2 separate regions of the Homo sapiens genome follow, and region 2 is linked to region 1. The links are contacts of gene promoters, found by promoter capture Hi-C in human tissues and cell types (Jung and others, 2019). All regions are on one chromosome and are shown on one strand. Each heading gives the region's core, a stretch centred on a gene start or on the middle of the fragment in contact. The rest is flanking DNA. Distances are from core to core; before and after follow the strand shown. Region 1 holds the start of SMOC2 (SPARC related modular calcium binding 2). Region 2 has its middle 8.6 kb from the start of LINC02487.

Evidence for each region. Contacts are between HindIII fragments. The study calls those that stand out against the background at their distance.
Region 2: a contact is called between a fragment that was not itself captured here and the fragment with the promoter of SMOC2 in region 1, in 1 of the 25 tissues and cell types used here (adrenal gland).

Annotation. Positions count from the first base shown.
Region 1 is chr6:168,436,782-168,444,087 of GRCh38, reverse strand. SMOC2 (SPARC related modular calcium binding 2) reads right to left here and starts at 2,904. Exons shown (of 13, transcript NM_001166412.2): 1 at 2,634-2,904. The coding sequence starts at 2,717. The HindIII fragment of the contact is 15,076 bases long and covers 1-7,306 here.
Region 2 is chr6:167,701,500-167,708,236 of GRCh38, reverse strand. No RefSeq gene overlaps it. Among named protein-coding and RNA genes, the nearest start is that of LINC02487, 8.6 kb to the right of the region's middle. RefSeq lists enhancers at 1-615, 4,413-4,954. The HindIII fragment of the contact is 5,604 bases long and covers 2,243-6,737 here.

The DNA of each region.
Region 1 (7,306 bases), core at 1,655-4,154:
TAATGCCACAACGCTATATGCATTGATAATTACGGTATCAATTGATAGCACTCTCTTATACGGACCCACGGCATGGGCACCATCAAAACAATGTTAGCTGGAGAACTCACATATAGTAGGCGCATTAAAAGCCCTACCTTTAATCCTCACCACATGCTTGAAAGAGATTATGTATTCTCATTTTACAGATAAGGGGACTGAAGATTATGAAATTAAGTAACTTGCCTGAAGTCACACATCCAGCAAGACCCTAAGCTGTGGGTCCCACCCACTGCATGGACTGATACTGCCTCTTGATTTATTAAAGTAGGTAGGATGCAAATCGTAGGGAGAGAAGGCCCTTCTTTGAATGAGGGCCTCCGGAGACAAAAGAGATTTCCAAAAACCAGAAGGCAATTTGAAAAGAGATGAGCACACTGAAAAATCCTGCACATCTCACATCTCCCAGCGACCAGTCAGATTTCAGGCCTGCCTCAGTTACTTTGTAACTCAACTACTTCTTGATTTTCTAGACTGGGGGTGGGGTGAGAAGAAGTGTGCCAAAATGTGTTATGGCTTTAATCTTTTCTTCGGGATACTGATTTTATTTGCAAATGTAAATTTCAGGCAAACTGTTCTTGGGGAATGCAGCCAACAGGGCAAAGCCCACGTGGGGTATCAGCTCCTGCACAGAGACCCCACATGCAGCGGGTCTCACCGCAACCCAAGACATCCTTGGGGCAACCTCAAGGGGGCAAAAGGTGAGAGGGTTCAAGTAAATAGTTAGATGAGACAGGGGAGAGAAGACAAGAAAACCTGCCGAGTCTTAAACTGTTCTAATTACTAACTACCTTGATTCTGCTCTTCCAGGGGGGACCAACAGGCCCAACCCCACCCCCCACACACACAGGGCAGCAGGCAGATGGCAGTCTCTACTTTTTGCGCTTTCAGAAAATCTGAAAATCCGTGGCAACTGTAGGTACCTGCTGCTACAGTCCTGGAAGAAAATGCTATGATCTCCTTTGGAGAATTGGCCTTAGTTTCTCTGTCTCCTCTAGTGTGCTTTAAGAGTATGTGGGGGGTCTTTTTGTGAGTGTATACGTGAGTATATTTATGTCTAGATGCATGTACAGATGTGCATATACATGAATGCCTCCAGTGAGTATCCTCTGAGGGCCCCCTCTGGGGAGATAAAGGATCTTCAGGGAAAGCCTGAGTGTGTGAAAACCTCCTTGGAGCCCCAGTTAGCAGTTTCTAATCTACAAGTCATTTGTGAGACACAAGGCAGGGACCCCGGGCTGCTGCAGAAGAATTTGAGGTATGAGCAATGAACTCACAAACCATCCTTCACACTGCTAAAACGCAAAAGAAAGAAGACGAAGAAAAAGAAAAAGAAAAAGAAAAGATGCCCACATGACTGTTTTAAATTTGCTGAAAGGCAGAACCGACCACAGCTTATTTCAACCATCTTTATTTTCAATACAATAAACACCTTTAGGACAAGTCCCCGGCCACTTAAAAAAGACGGCTGTCCACCAGAGGCGTTCTCACTACCTTCGTGTTTTCTCAAACACTTGTTCAAAAACACATTTAAGTGGAATGTTTTCGTTTCTGGCGATTGCATTAATGATGGGTTTGCAAACCCTGCAAGCCCAGGAGGACGGCTGGAGCTGGGGGCTGCAGACACCCGGCCTTGGCCCAGCGGCCGCCGCGGGTTGGCTTGGCCGGCGGGGGCTTGGCTCAGCCCCCTCTACATAGCTCCTCGTTTGACACCGCGTGCGTTGGCCGGGCCAAGGCTGTCGCATAGAAGTTACAGCTCAGAAAGAAAAACACACAGCGGTCAACCGCGGTGACCCTCGCGCTCAGGAGCGCAGCATCCCTGCCACGAGGAAGAACCCAGAGGCCCCGCAGAGCGGGGAGCCGCCGCCTGCCTCCAGTTCTGTCCTGAGAAGGGAAGAAAGCGCTTCTCTAATAACACTCAGGCCCGTGAAGAATCATCTGTAACCTCATCTGCTTCTTCCTCGGCTCACTTACGAGGGTCTCTGGGAGAGTCAGACCCACGAGTGGGGCCCACGACTGGCAGCCCCTTCAGCCGGCGAGAGGCCCGGGATCCGCGCGGCGCACGAGCCCAAAGCGGTCGGGAGAACACGCTCCAGGCCGGGTCCCCGTGGGCGAGGTGGGCGCCCAGTCCCGGCGGGTCTGTCTTGGCCTTGGGACAGTCCGCGGGGCGGCGCCGGCGCTCCCAGACCTGGTTCCCCACAGGCTCAGGCCCAGCAGTGAGTGCGGGACACCCGAGCGCACCCGCAGCTCCCACTTGTCCGGGGTCTGCAGGACCCCAGGATCCTCTCACAGCCGGGTCAGAGCCCCCGAGGCAGGTGGGGTCCCAGCCGGGTGGAACCCGAGGAGCCCGTCGCAGCCGCAGCAGGACCCCGGCGGGCAGGGTCCCCAGAAGCCCATCCCAGCCGGGTCCCAGGCGCGCACGCTGCGTCCTACCTGCTCCAGCCTCGCCGGCAGGCGAAGGCTCCACGGCCCCCGGGGCCACCTGCTCCCCGTGCCCAGGCGCCTGGGCCTGGAGCGGGGCGCGGGGACCCGAACCCGGCCGGCTGCAAGAGGCGGCACCACTTGAGCTCCAGGTCCCGCGGGCCCGGGCTTACCGTGAGCGCCGAGAACTTCTGAGCGGGCACCGGCGGGAGCAGCCCAGCGAGCAGCGGCAGCCAGCAGAGCTGGGGGAGCAGCATGGTGGCGGAGGTGGCGGGAGCGGGAGATCGGCCGCGTCCTGCGCCCTGGCACTGCAGCCGGGAGAGCCCAGTGGGCGAGCGCGGCTGGGCGGGCGCGTGGAGGGGCGGCTCCGCGATGCTCTCCCCACCGCTCCCGGCGGCCCGGCTGGAGCAGCTCCCCTGCAGGCACCCAGAGGTCCTCCGCGTTCTTTGCGTCCGCCCTCGCTCCTGTCAAATACCCCGGAGCTTCCCGGATCCTCCCCTCCCGCCCGCCTCTCTCCCTCCCCCTCTCCTCCCCCAGCCCCACCTCCCAGCGCCCGCTGCCGCGCCCGCTCCGCTCCGGTGCCCGCTGCGGCCCAGAGGCCTCCCTGGCGCGGGTCTGCGGAGCGAGAGGTGGAGCGGGGGCCACCAGGGCTGCGCAGTGGCCTGTCCGGGCTGTCTCTGTGCCTCCTTCCCCGCGCGCACTCTCACACACACACGTGCACACTTACACACACGCACACCCAGGCACACGCACGCACTCATACCCACGCGCGCGCACCCTCGGGGGGCTTCCAAGCACAACCACGGGACGCACCGCGCCCTCCTCACGCCCCAGGGTCCAGGCCCGGTCCGCGCAGGATCAGCCCAGCGGGACTTTTCATCCACAAAGGTTAACGCCAAGCCTTGGCCGGTCCCCAGACTCCGGGGTTCTCCTTGACCTCTGCCCTCTAAGGCCCCCTGGTCCAGCCCAGAACATTGCCTCTCAGAGGTGCTGAAGGATCAGCGGCGCTCCAGCAAAGGCAGCTGGGAACACATGTCCAGGAAAGGCTGCGCCGGGGGCAGCCCGCCTTTGGCATCTTTACACGGGGTTATCCACTGCAGGGATGGGGGAATTTAGGTCCTAAAGATCCGGGGTCTGACCTGGGCTGTAGCCTTGATCCTCTCAAGTCGGGGGAGCATGTGGTTGGGCATCATTCACAGACACATGTGGCTGTTTTTAAACAGCTCTGTCAAAGCATTTCAGGTGTTTGTGCGGGGAGCACAGGGCTTGTGGAGGTTGTAAACTCACCCACGAAGACTACGTTGGAAACCAGGAAATTTTTGCACACCCAGACTCTGGATAATATCCACTGCAGACAACATTGCTGACATAGTTTAGCCTTGGCTTATAACTTTACAGGAAAAAGCCCTAATTCTGTCTCACACAGAAAGCCAGAAGAGTGAAGATTTGTTCAAGAACAATGAATCAATTGACTTGTCAGGGGCATTGGGAAAAGCACAAAACACAGAAAATCCAAATCTGAGGTTTCATCCGATGTCTAGCCCACTGCTTTGGCTATGAACTTTGGGGGAGGGGGCTGTATCAGCAAGTTCTGGGACTGGCTGCTGAGGCAAAGGCAATGCTATTGCAACCTTTCCCACACAATTTTATCAGGAAAGTGATGTCCGTCGGGCCACGGAAAGACGGGAAAGAAATGCACCTTTTCCTGAAGGAGGGCTACTCTCAGAATTCTCCTTAAAATTCCAAAGCCCAGGGAATCTATTAAGCACTTAAACACATTCCTCCTGGTTTAAGGACTTAGAAGGAAATTATAATAAAACTCTTGAGGGACTGCTCCTGGGTCCAGAAAAACAGGTGAGCAGAGCAGCTGCAAATGATTAAGTAAATAGGAATCACTGTTAGGGAACTGCAGTGAAAATTAAAGTAAAAAGAAAATAAACACTACATACCACTAATTCTAAGATTATCCAAAGAATAAAATTTACACTCGAAGCTGACATACTTCCTTTAAGAAGTATTTGCTACTAAAGAACCTGTTTTTCACTTTCCACTTTGTTGAGAGTACTGCTCGTCAGAACTCAAAAGTTTGAAAGCATGTTCATTTATCCACCATCGTCCGCTGCAAGAATGGCAGACAAGAAGCAGACTTAATTATTCCCATTCTACAGATGAGGAACAAAAGTCAAAGGGGCCAAATGTCTTAGCCAGATCTCCTAAGCAACAAAATCATAAACAGAATGCAGATGTTAAAACCTGCAATACTGGCAAATCCATGTCACTTCCTCTGGCAATATGGAGAACAGAAGAAAATCCTTGGCCCTCCGTGCCTTGTATTCAAGAATCCCAACACGTCTTTCATGTAGCAACTCCAGAATCCTCTGGGAACTCTAGGAAGATAAATGAAATGCATTTGTCCAAAACTCTGACAGATGAGGCAGGTTTGGAGCCTTTGAAACCCCTTTCAAATCTGGAGGAGCTCATGTGTCCTGAATGCCAAATTTTAGTTTCTCAAAATTCTAGAAATGGAGTTTGGAGAGATAATCAGGTTCCATTTTTATGGAGAAAAACAATACATTTATTTAAAACACTGGGAAAGAGTTATGTCTGTCTTTTATTTGTAAGTCTCCAAGAAAGTTATTACTGGCAGGAATGCCAGAGAGCTGTCATGTTAGAAAGGATAGAAAAGTAATTCACTCAGTTCAAAGTTAAGACAGGAAGTGATCAGCTCTATACTTTCCAGAGAGTTCCTCTAGGATGCAGGAAGAAGTTCCCCTCTCTTGGAAATGTAGGTTTTTTTGTTTTTTTTTTTAATTAAAAAGTGATGCAGGGCCCATTCTAAAATGTGGCTTATGCATTCAGAATTTAAATGCCTGTCACTGATGAAAGTTACAATAAAGAACAGCAAGAGAAACTAATTACCAAAGACTCCAGCTGTTTTCACATTTCTAAACTAACTTTCCCTCTTAGGCCATTAGCAAAATGCTTTATCATGAGTATTGGCTTCCTTTTTATTTATTTTACTATGCTAAAACTGCAAAAGGATTTTATTTTCATTATAGAAATGATATAATTTAGTTATTATTTCTGGCTAATTCATGTTTAGCCAGAAAACTTTTTGTCAGCTATTTTCCCATCTCAATATGCCAAGCATAAGTTTAGTCAAATATCTCTTTGTTGATGCAGTGACTTCCAGAAATCCCCTCTGCCATCACTCTGAGTATCATCTGGGACTGAACTCAGGTCACTGTTCATACTCTGAGAATCACCCCACATCATCAGTCACCTGCCAGTCACTTATTAATGTTTTCTCCTAGTTTCTACTTAATCATGGGAGCAGGAGTTTTCACCGTTCACCTGGACTTTCTTAGGTAAGTTCTGTGTGATTTTCCTTTTAGACTACCCCCAGGCTGGACCCGAGAATCTGTAGTTCCCCAGGTTTCTGGAGTCTCTGTCCTCTTGTTGGCTTGTTCATTCTGATGACTTGCATCTTCCTTTTAACTTGTTCCCTTCAACCTACGGAAAAATGATGCAGGATCCCCACATCAATCCCAGGTTTTTAGCCCAAGTTCTGCAGCTTCACAAACCTGTGAGCCATATAGAAAGGAAACCACATCGGCAGAGTTGACAAAATCAGAACAGAGCACCGCCGAGGCTCACCGTCACCGCGGCTGCAGGATGAGGCCAGCGTTGACACACCACGTTGAAAAGTGGACAGTGGAGTTGTGTGTTTGATCCTTGGGCCTGACTCAATGGCTTTCTTCCTATTTTGATATATTTAAGTAACAGAGAATTTGGACTTTGTGCTCAACAAAATAATTAAACAAGTTTCTTCTTTTTTTTTTTTTTTTTTGAGATGGAGTCTTGCTCTGTTGCCCAGGCTGGAGTGCAGTGGTGCAATCTCGGCTCACTGCAAGCTCTCCCTCCCGGGTTCACACCATTCTCCTGCCTCAGCCTCCCGAGTAGCTGGGACTACAGGCGCCCACCACCACGCCCAGCTAATTTTTTGTATTTTTAGTAGAGACGGGGTTTCACTGTGTTAGCCAGGATGGTCTCCATCTCCTGACCTCGTGATCCGCCCACCTCGGCCTCCCAAAGTGCTGAGATTACAGGCGTGAGCCACCGCGCCCGGCCTCTTCTTCCTTCTTAAGATGCCTGAGGACAATTTTTATGATAATACTTTTCAGGCACTTTGTGGCAAATTTTTAAAAAATAATTTCAGCTTTTATTTTAGACTCGGGGGCACACGTGCAGGTTTGTGACATGGACATATTGTGTGACTCTGAGGTTTGGGGTATGAAAGACGCAGAGAGTGAGCATAGCACCCAATAAGCAGTTTTATCAGCCCTTGTTCCCTGCCCCACCTTTCTAGCAGGCCCTGGTGTCTACTGTTCCTTCTTTATCTCTGTGTGTACCCAGTGTCTCATTTCTTCTTTATCTCAATGTGTACCCAGTGTCTAGCTCCCGCTTATGAGTGAGAACATCCAGTATTTGCATGTCTGTTCCTGCATTAATTCACTTAGGATCATGGCCTCCAGTTGCATCTATGTTGCTGCAAAGGACATGCTTCCGTTCTTTTGTGGCTACATAGTATTCCGTGGTGTCTATGTACTACATTTTCCTTGTCCAGTCCACTACTGATGGGCACCTAGGTTAATTCCATGTCTTTGCAATTGTGACCGGTGATGCAATTAACATACAAGGGCTTGTGTCTTTTTTGTAGATGGTTTATTTTCCTTTGGATACATACCCAGTAATGGGATTGCTGGATCGAATGGGAGTTCTATTTTTAGTTCTTTGAGAAATCCCCAAACTTCTTCCCACAGTGGCTGAAATAATTTACATTCCC
Region 2 (6,737 bases), core at 3,795-6,294, 740 kb after region 1:
GCAGCCTCTCGCCTGGAGGGTATTCAGGAAGGAGGCCAGTGTCAAGCAACTCCACCCTATGGATTCTGTTTCAGATAAAACATGCTCATTTGGCCAAGGCCAACACAGGCACCCTCCCCCTGCTTTGTCTGGACGTAAGCAGCTGAGGCTTGGCCCTGCACCGTCAAGAGGTCTACCTGGCTGCAGAGGCTCAGCCTCCCCCCTGAGCACTGTGGGGTGTCTTCCACCCTCCCCATCACATGCTAAGCTCTTTCCTTGTAGCCATGGGGCATCGTGACAACATATTTAGCAAAATGCCACAGCTGTCATACGTGTGTTTCTCCAGCTGCTGCTTCTGAGCCAGCTTCCCAGGCCTCGGATAGACCAGAGTTCGCTCATCATGCCGTCTCTTCAGTGACTGATTACGCGGGAATTCGGGAAGTGCCGACTTTCCCCGGATGACTGGGTTTCTTGATGTGATACTCCGCTCAGCAAATCCTACCTTCCTTTCCCTTTGCAATTCTTGAGACCATTTTCTGCTTGACAATAAAGTGACCTTAAGGCACCGTGTTCATTTCAGTTTCAGACAGTTGTTTTGCTCCTTTTTTCCTGTGAGAGAAAGACACGAAGCCCCCTTCCCTGCTGCCGACTTTCTTGGTGTGTCCCTGATGCCAGGCCACCTGTGTCTTCACGGGAAACTCCACAGACCAGGGGCTGTGTAAGATGTCTGGGTGATGTACAGTCACTTTCTGCAAACTTAGAGCATGAAATAGTCAGGACAACATGTCAGCCAGGTCATACCCTTCAGTTGACTATAGTTTTGTCTGGGAGTGAAATTCTAAACTGCCAAGCAGCTTCTGTGTTATGCTGTAATCATTTAGAGCCTTCTCATTTTTGTAAGACTTTTGACTTATCTGTTTCTTGCTTAAATGCTTTCTTCTTTAGTTACGCCTTTCCTGGATGGACATGCGGGCTGTGCTATGTCTGGAGAGGCACCGGGAATCCAGTCACTGAGGCATGCTCACCGTGGCTTCAACTGTGGGCATTGATTTCTTCCCTGAAACCCTGGAGGAGACACATCGGGGCTGTTCTCCTGGCTTCTTCAGGTGTGTGTTCACACCTGCATCTGGGCCTTATGGCCTCCCTCACGGGGCCACATGGGAAGGCCGGGTGCAGGGAGGCTTCTGTGGTGGGGCTGGGGGTGTCTTGTGAGCTTCTTCCTCTCCCTCTTTTCTTCCTTTGTTGTTGTTTTTTTAAATCATGAAGGAAGAGTGATTCCCAGAATCTCACCCCTCTGGACTTACCCTTGGTCTCATTGGCCAGAGCTGGCCACGTGACTACCATACTGGCCATGGAAACTGAGGCAGCAAATATCTGGGTTTTCAGGCTATGGTGGGAACAGCTGTTGAGAACAGCAGCCGGGTCTCAATCGTGGACTGAAGTAAAGCTGGCTGTAGGTCCTCATCCTGCTGTCCCGTCGCTGCAACGAACCGCAGCTCCTCTCATCAACAGGGGCTCCTTTCCCACCCTTGGAGGCCGCGCAGCCTCTGACTTGCTTTGGCCGGTAGGAAGGGGGCCTTGCCCAGCCGAGGCCTAAGACGCCGTGAGCTCTTGCAGTTCCCACGAAGCCCTGTACTGTCACGAGCATCTGCCTGGGGCCCTGAGAGTCTCTGCGGGGCCCAGCTGGCGTGGGAGGGGGCTCGGCAAAGCTAGGTGAAGCCACCCAGCCGAGCCGGCTGAGCAGATGCATTCATTCTCCTCCGCCCCAGCTCAGAGAGCAGCCCTGCCCCAACACCACCTCGACGGTGAGCAGGCGCCAGTGGTGGTGGTTACGTGCACAGAGGTTTGTGGTTGTTTCTTGTGGTTACCACTGTGGCAATAGATAACTGATAATGGAAACAATAGCAACTACAGACGCCCTCACTATAGAATATTTAGAGGGCTAAAAATGTGTAAATACAGAAAATCACCCGGAAGCCTACCCTGCAGAGAAAACTATTATTAACACTTGGCAGGGGTGCCTTTATTTTTCTATATACTCCTTTTTCAAGTGTAGACATTATACGGTATGTAATTTTTTTCATTTAATGGTAAAAGTTTGTTTTTCATTTTAATGAACACTCTTCTTAAATATCAGTGTAATAGCATGTAAATATTGGGTTATTTGTATAGTTCAAAATTTGTATAAGCATTCCAATTTTGGATATTTGAATTTTTAAAATATTAATGCAATGAACATATCAGTACATAATATTTTTGCTCATATGCACTTTACTTCTTTCCTTAAGATGTATTCTTAGAGATGGGAGTCCTGGGCCAAAGGCAGGTGGCAGCGTCCCCGTCCTGTACCCATCCCGCTGCCTTCTAGGAAGCTGGGGCTGGGTCGTGTGCCCACATCCCATGGATGGAGAGTTCTGTTTCACTCACCATCAGCAGCACAAAGCGTCATCATTTGAAATGTTTCCTTCATGCTTCTAGAAGAAAGGTGTTTTCATTTTAACTCCAGTCGCATGGTGCTCACCTGCTGTGGTGCGTGTCTGTCTCCGCCAGCCGCAGGCACCAGCACGGGAGGCTTGTGTGGCCCAATTCTGGCATTGATATTTGTGGGAACGTGGGTGGACAGGGCCCGAGCAAAGTTTGCTAGTCCCTGAGAAAACAGCCCAAGAGGACACATCTCTTCCTCTTCCACTGGCCATGGTCAGATCTGAATGTGACGGTGGGACCATCGCAGCCTCTCTCGACCCAGGGTCCTGGCTGCCTGAGACGCGCAGAGCTCCTGAACTAACCAACCCTGAGCTCGCCCTGCCCGGATCTGCACCTCCGTTCTTTAAGGAAATGCACGTGGTGCTGCTCCAGCCGTCAGGCTTGTGCGTGTTCTCTGCGGCTGGCGCCTCCCGCGTGCCGTCCTGTGGCCTCGCCCTCCTCCTACTGCTGCTCGGCAGCTGGGGGCTTCTCTCCAGGGTCGTGTGATGGCCTTTTGAAAAATGTAACCAATAAACTCAGACACCTGGAAGCTGCAAAGTGTGTATGTGCCTCTTAATAAAAGATTTTTTAGCATGCTTGTAATTACAAATTTGTTTGCAATTAATATTAAATAAAGAAATAACAAAGAAGAAAAAGTAGATTTCTGGTTTGGTCCTTCCTGGGCCAGCTCTAGTTCAGGGGCTCTGAGGATGCTGTGGTCAGAGAGGCCCTACCAAACACCCCTCTCAAGACCTTTCTTCTCTGTATGGGTGGTGGAGACACAAAATAAACAGGGCTTTCCCTGTGAGGGACAGAAATAAAGAGGATTCAGAGAAGGCCACTCTGAGGAGGAGACATTGGACCTACCACGTGAAAAGAAAGAGAAGGAATTCACTTCAAGAAGGGTGAATTCTCATCAAGACCAGTGAAAGAGTATTTCAAGCTGTCTTGGTGCTGCACATTTGGCAGTAAAACCAGGAGCTTGGAGTACAGTGGTCTGAAGCAGCAGGTCCAGCGACAGCTGCCAGAGGAGGGTGGGCCTCAGGCTGACCCCGGGCAGGAGCTCTGTGCTGACCGTGGAGTCTGCTGGGGCCACTGTGCTATGTCTTCCACTGCTGGCCAAACCTTCGCCCAGGGTCCTGGCAGTGGCCAGAGGAAAACAAGCCAACCACGTTCAGACACGTTCCTGGAGCTGGGAGGAGTCTCTCTGGAACTGGGAGGTGTCTCTCCGGAGCTGGGAGGAGTCTCTCTGGAGCTGGGAGGAGTCTCTCCGGAGCTGGGAGGAGTCTCTCTGGAATGAGGAGGAGTCTCTCCAGAACTGGGAGGAGTCTCTCCGGAACTGGGAGGAGTCTCTCCGGAGCTGGGAGGAGTCTCTCCGGAACTGGGAGGAGTCTCTCCGGAACTGGGAGGAGTCTCTCCGGAACTGGGAGGAGTCTCTCCAGAACTGGGAGGAGTTGCTCCGGAACTGGGAGGTGTCTCTCCAGAACTGGGAGGAGTCTCTCCAGAGCTTTGAGGAGTCTCTCCGGAGCTGGGAGGAGTCTCTCCGGAACTGGGAGGAGTCTCTCCGGAGCTGGGAGGAGTCTCTCCGGAACTGGGAGGTGTCTCTCTGGAGCTGGGAGGAGTCTCTCCGGAACTGGGAGGAGTCTCTCCGGAGCTGGGAGGAGTCTCTCCGGAGCTGGGAAGTGTCTCTCCCGAACTGGGAGGAGTTTCCCTGGAACCCCCTCCCCTCCCAGGGCTGAGTCAGCGTCCGAGCCGGGAGCTGGGGCTGCCTTCCAGAGGCTGGCTCCCTCCACTGAGAGAGGCTCAGCCCTCCCTGGGCATTTGGGCTGTGTGGGAGACAGAGACACCTGCATGAGACCATCCTAGAAGGGAGGAATCGCATGGGTGGGGGCAGCTACCAACAGCGTGGAACACTCAGGGCCTGAGGCTGGAGGAGCCTGGTTTGCTCAGAAACAGAGGAGGCTGGCGTGGCTGGGACATGGCCCTGGGAGATTGGCAGACATGGGGCCTGAAATGTCTTCAAAGGCTGCCGACAGTGGAGCATGGGGGCAGTGTGAGGCAGGAGCTGAGGGTCAGCCCTCCACAGGCCAAATGTGTCCAAGCCCGGTTCCTTGAGAGCTAAGCCCAGGCCTTCAGGAGCTGAACCATGCCTGCCTTCCTCACTGGCCACATACGCCCTGTGGAGGGCTCCATGGTTACACACACACCGTGGAGTGGGTCCATGGCCACACACACACTGTGCAGTGATGACCCATACTCACCGTGGAGTGCGCCCTTGACCACACACTCAATGGGGGGTCCAGCAGGCAACAGAAGGAAGCAGTGAGGCTCTTATTCTTTGTGTAGTCGTGAGTCGCTTAGCAACGTTTCAGTCCATGATGGATGGCACAGACAACGGTGGGCCTCTGAGATGATCGTGGAGCTGGAAGACTTCTACTGCCTTGTGATGTCATTGCACAATGCATTTCTCACGCGTTTGCGGTGATGCTGGTATAGGCAAACCTACTGCGTTACCAGTTGTATAAACGTATAGCTCGTACAGTTGTGCATAGCACATTCTACTTGATAATGATGATGCGTGCTATACTATACATTTTATTGTTATTTTAGAGTGTACTCCTCCTACTAATTAGAAAAACAAGTTAATTGTAAAGCAGCTGCAGGCAGGTCCTGTGGGAGGTGTCCAGAAGAAGGCATTGTCATCACAGGAGGTGACGGCTCTGTGCGTGTCATTGCCCCTGCAGACCTTCCAGTGGGACCAGATGTTGGGGGGAAGACAGTGACACCGAGGACCCTGACCCTGTGTGGGCCTAGGCCACTGTGTGTTTGCCTCTTTGTTTTTAACAGAAACATTTTAAAAGTTAAAAAAAAAAATGAAAAAATAGAAAAAAGCTTATAGAATGAGAATATAAAGAAAGAAAATAATTTTGTACAGCTGTATAATGTGTTTGTGTTTTAAGCAAAGTGTTATAAAAGAGTCAAAAAGTTAAAAAAATTTAAGTTTATAACATAAAAAAGTTACAGTAATCTAAGGTTAATCTACTATTTCGAAAAGAAAACTATTTTGCATAAATTTAATATATCCTAAGTGTACAGTGTTTATAAAGCCTGCAGTAGTTATGGTCACGACCTGGGCCTTCAGATTCACGCTCCACACACTCACTGACTCACCCAGAGCAACTTCCCGTTCTACAAGCCCCATTCATGCTAAGTGCCCTAAACAGGTGCAGCATTTTTAATCTTTGATACTGTATTTTCTATTGTCCCTTTCTTATGTTTAGATACACGAATACTTACCATTGTATTTCAGTTGCCCACAGTATTCCCCACAGTCACATAGGGCACAGGTCTGCAGCCCTGGAGCAACAGGCTCCACCACGCAGCCCAGGTGTGTAGCAGGCTGCTCCGCCCAGGTGTGTGTCGGTGCACTCTGATGAAATTGCCTAATGATGCATTTCTCAGAATGGATCCCCATCATTAGGTGACACCTGACTATATTTCAGTATAAGTGTTTGTGTGTGAATTTTTAGCATCTTACTCTTCTTAATGGTTGATTGTCGGCTCTGCTTTTAAAGCTTTAAATTTCAAAAGCCTCATAATTGCTAAAACCATGGTTTTCCTTTTTTCTTTTTCTTTTTTTTTTTTTTTTAATTGAGACAGGGTCTCACTCTGTCACCCAGGCAGTGGCGTGATCTCGGCTTACTGCAACCTCCACCTCCCGGGCTCAAGCAATTCTCCTGCCTCAGCCTCTCAAGTAGCTGGGATTACAGGTGTGCGCCACTACTGCCTGGATAATTTTTGTATTTTTAGTAGAGGTGGGGTTTCACCATTCGGCCAGGCTGGTCTTGAACTCCTGACCTCAAATGATCCACCCACCTCAGTCTCCCAAAGTGCTGGGATTACAGGCATGAGCCATGGTGCCCGGCCATCATTGTTCTTTGTGATCTATGATAAATAGAAAGCAAATAAGTTAAACTTATCAAGTACTATTTATTAAGTGCTTGACAAGTGTTTCCCAGGTGTGGAAGACATATCATTGGTGTTTTGAGAAATCATTTCAGGTAATGCATGCAGAATAGTTTGATTTTAATGGATATTAGGGGAAAAAAGTACTATATTTTAAAAGAAAGTACTGCAGGCCCATGCTTTGGTAATTATTTTTACTTAAGAAAAATGCTATGCTGAGTTTTTAAGTTGAAAAGTGAGTCAACTTAAAAAAAGCATAAGGTAAATAACACTGTATGTGGTAAGAAAACATAGTTAAAAGTATGGTGATAGAAAACAGTTACTAAAGC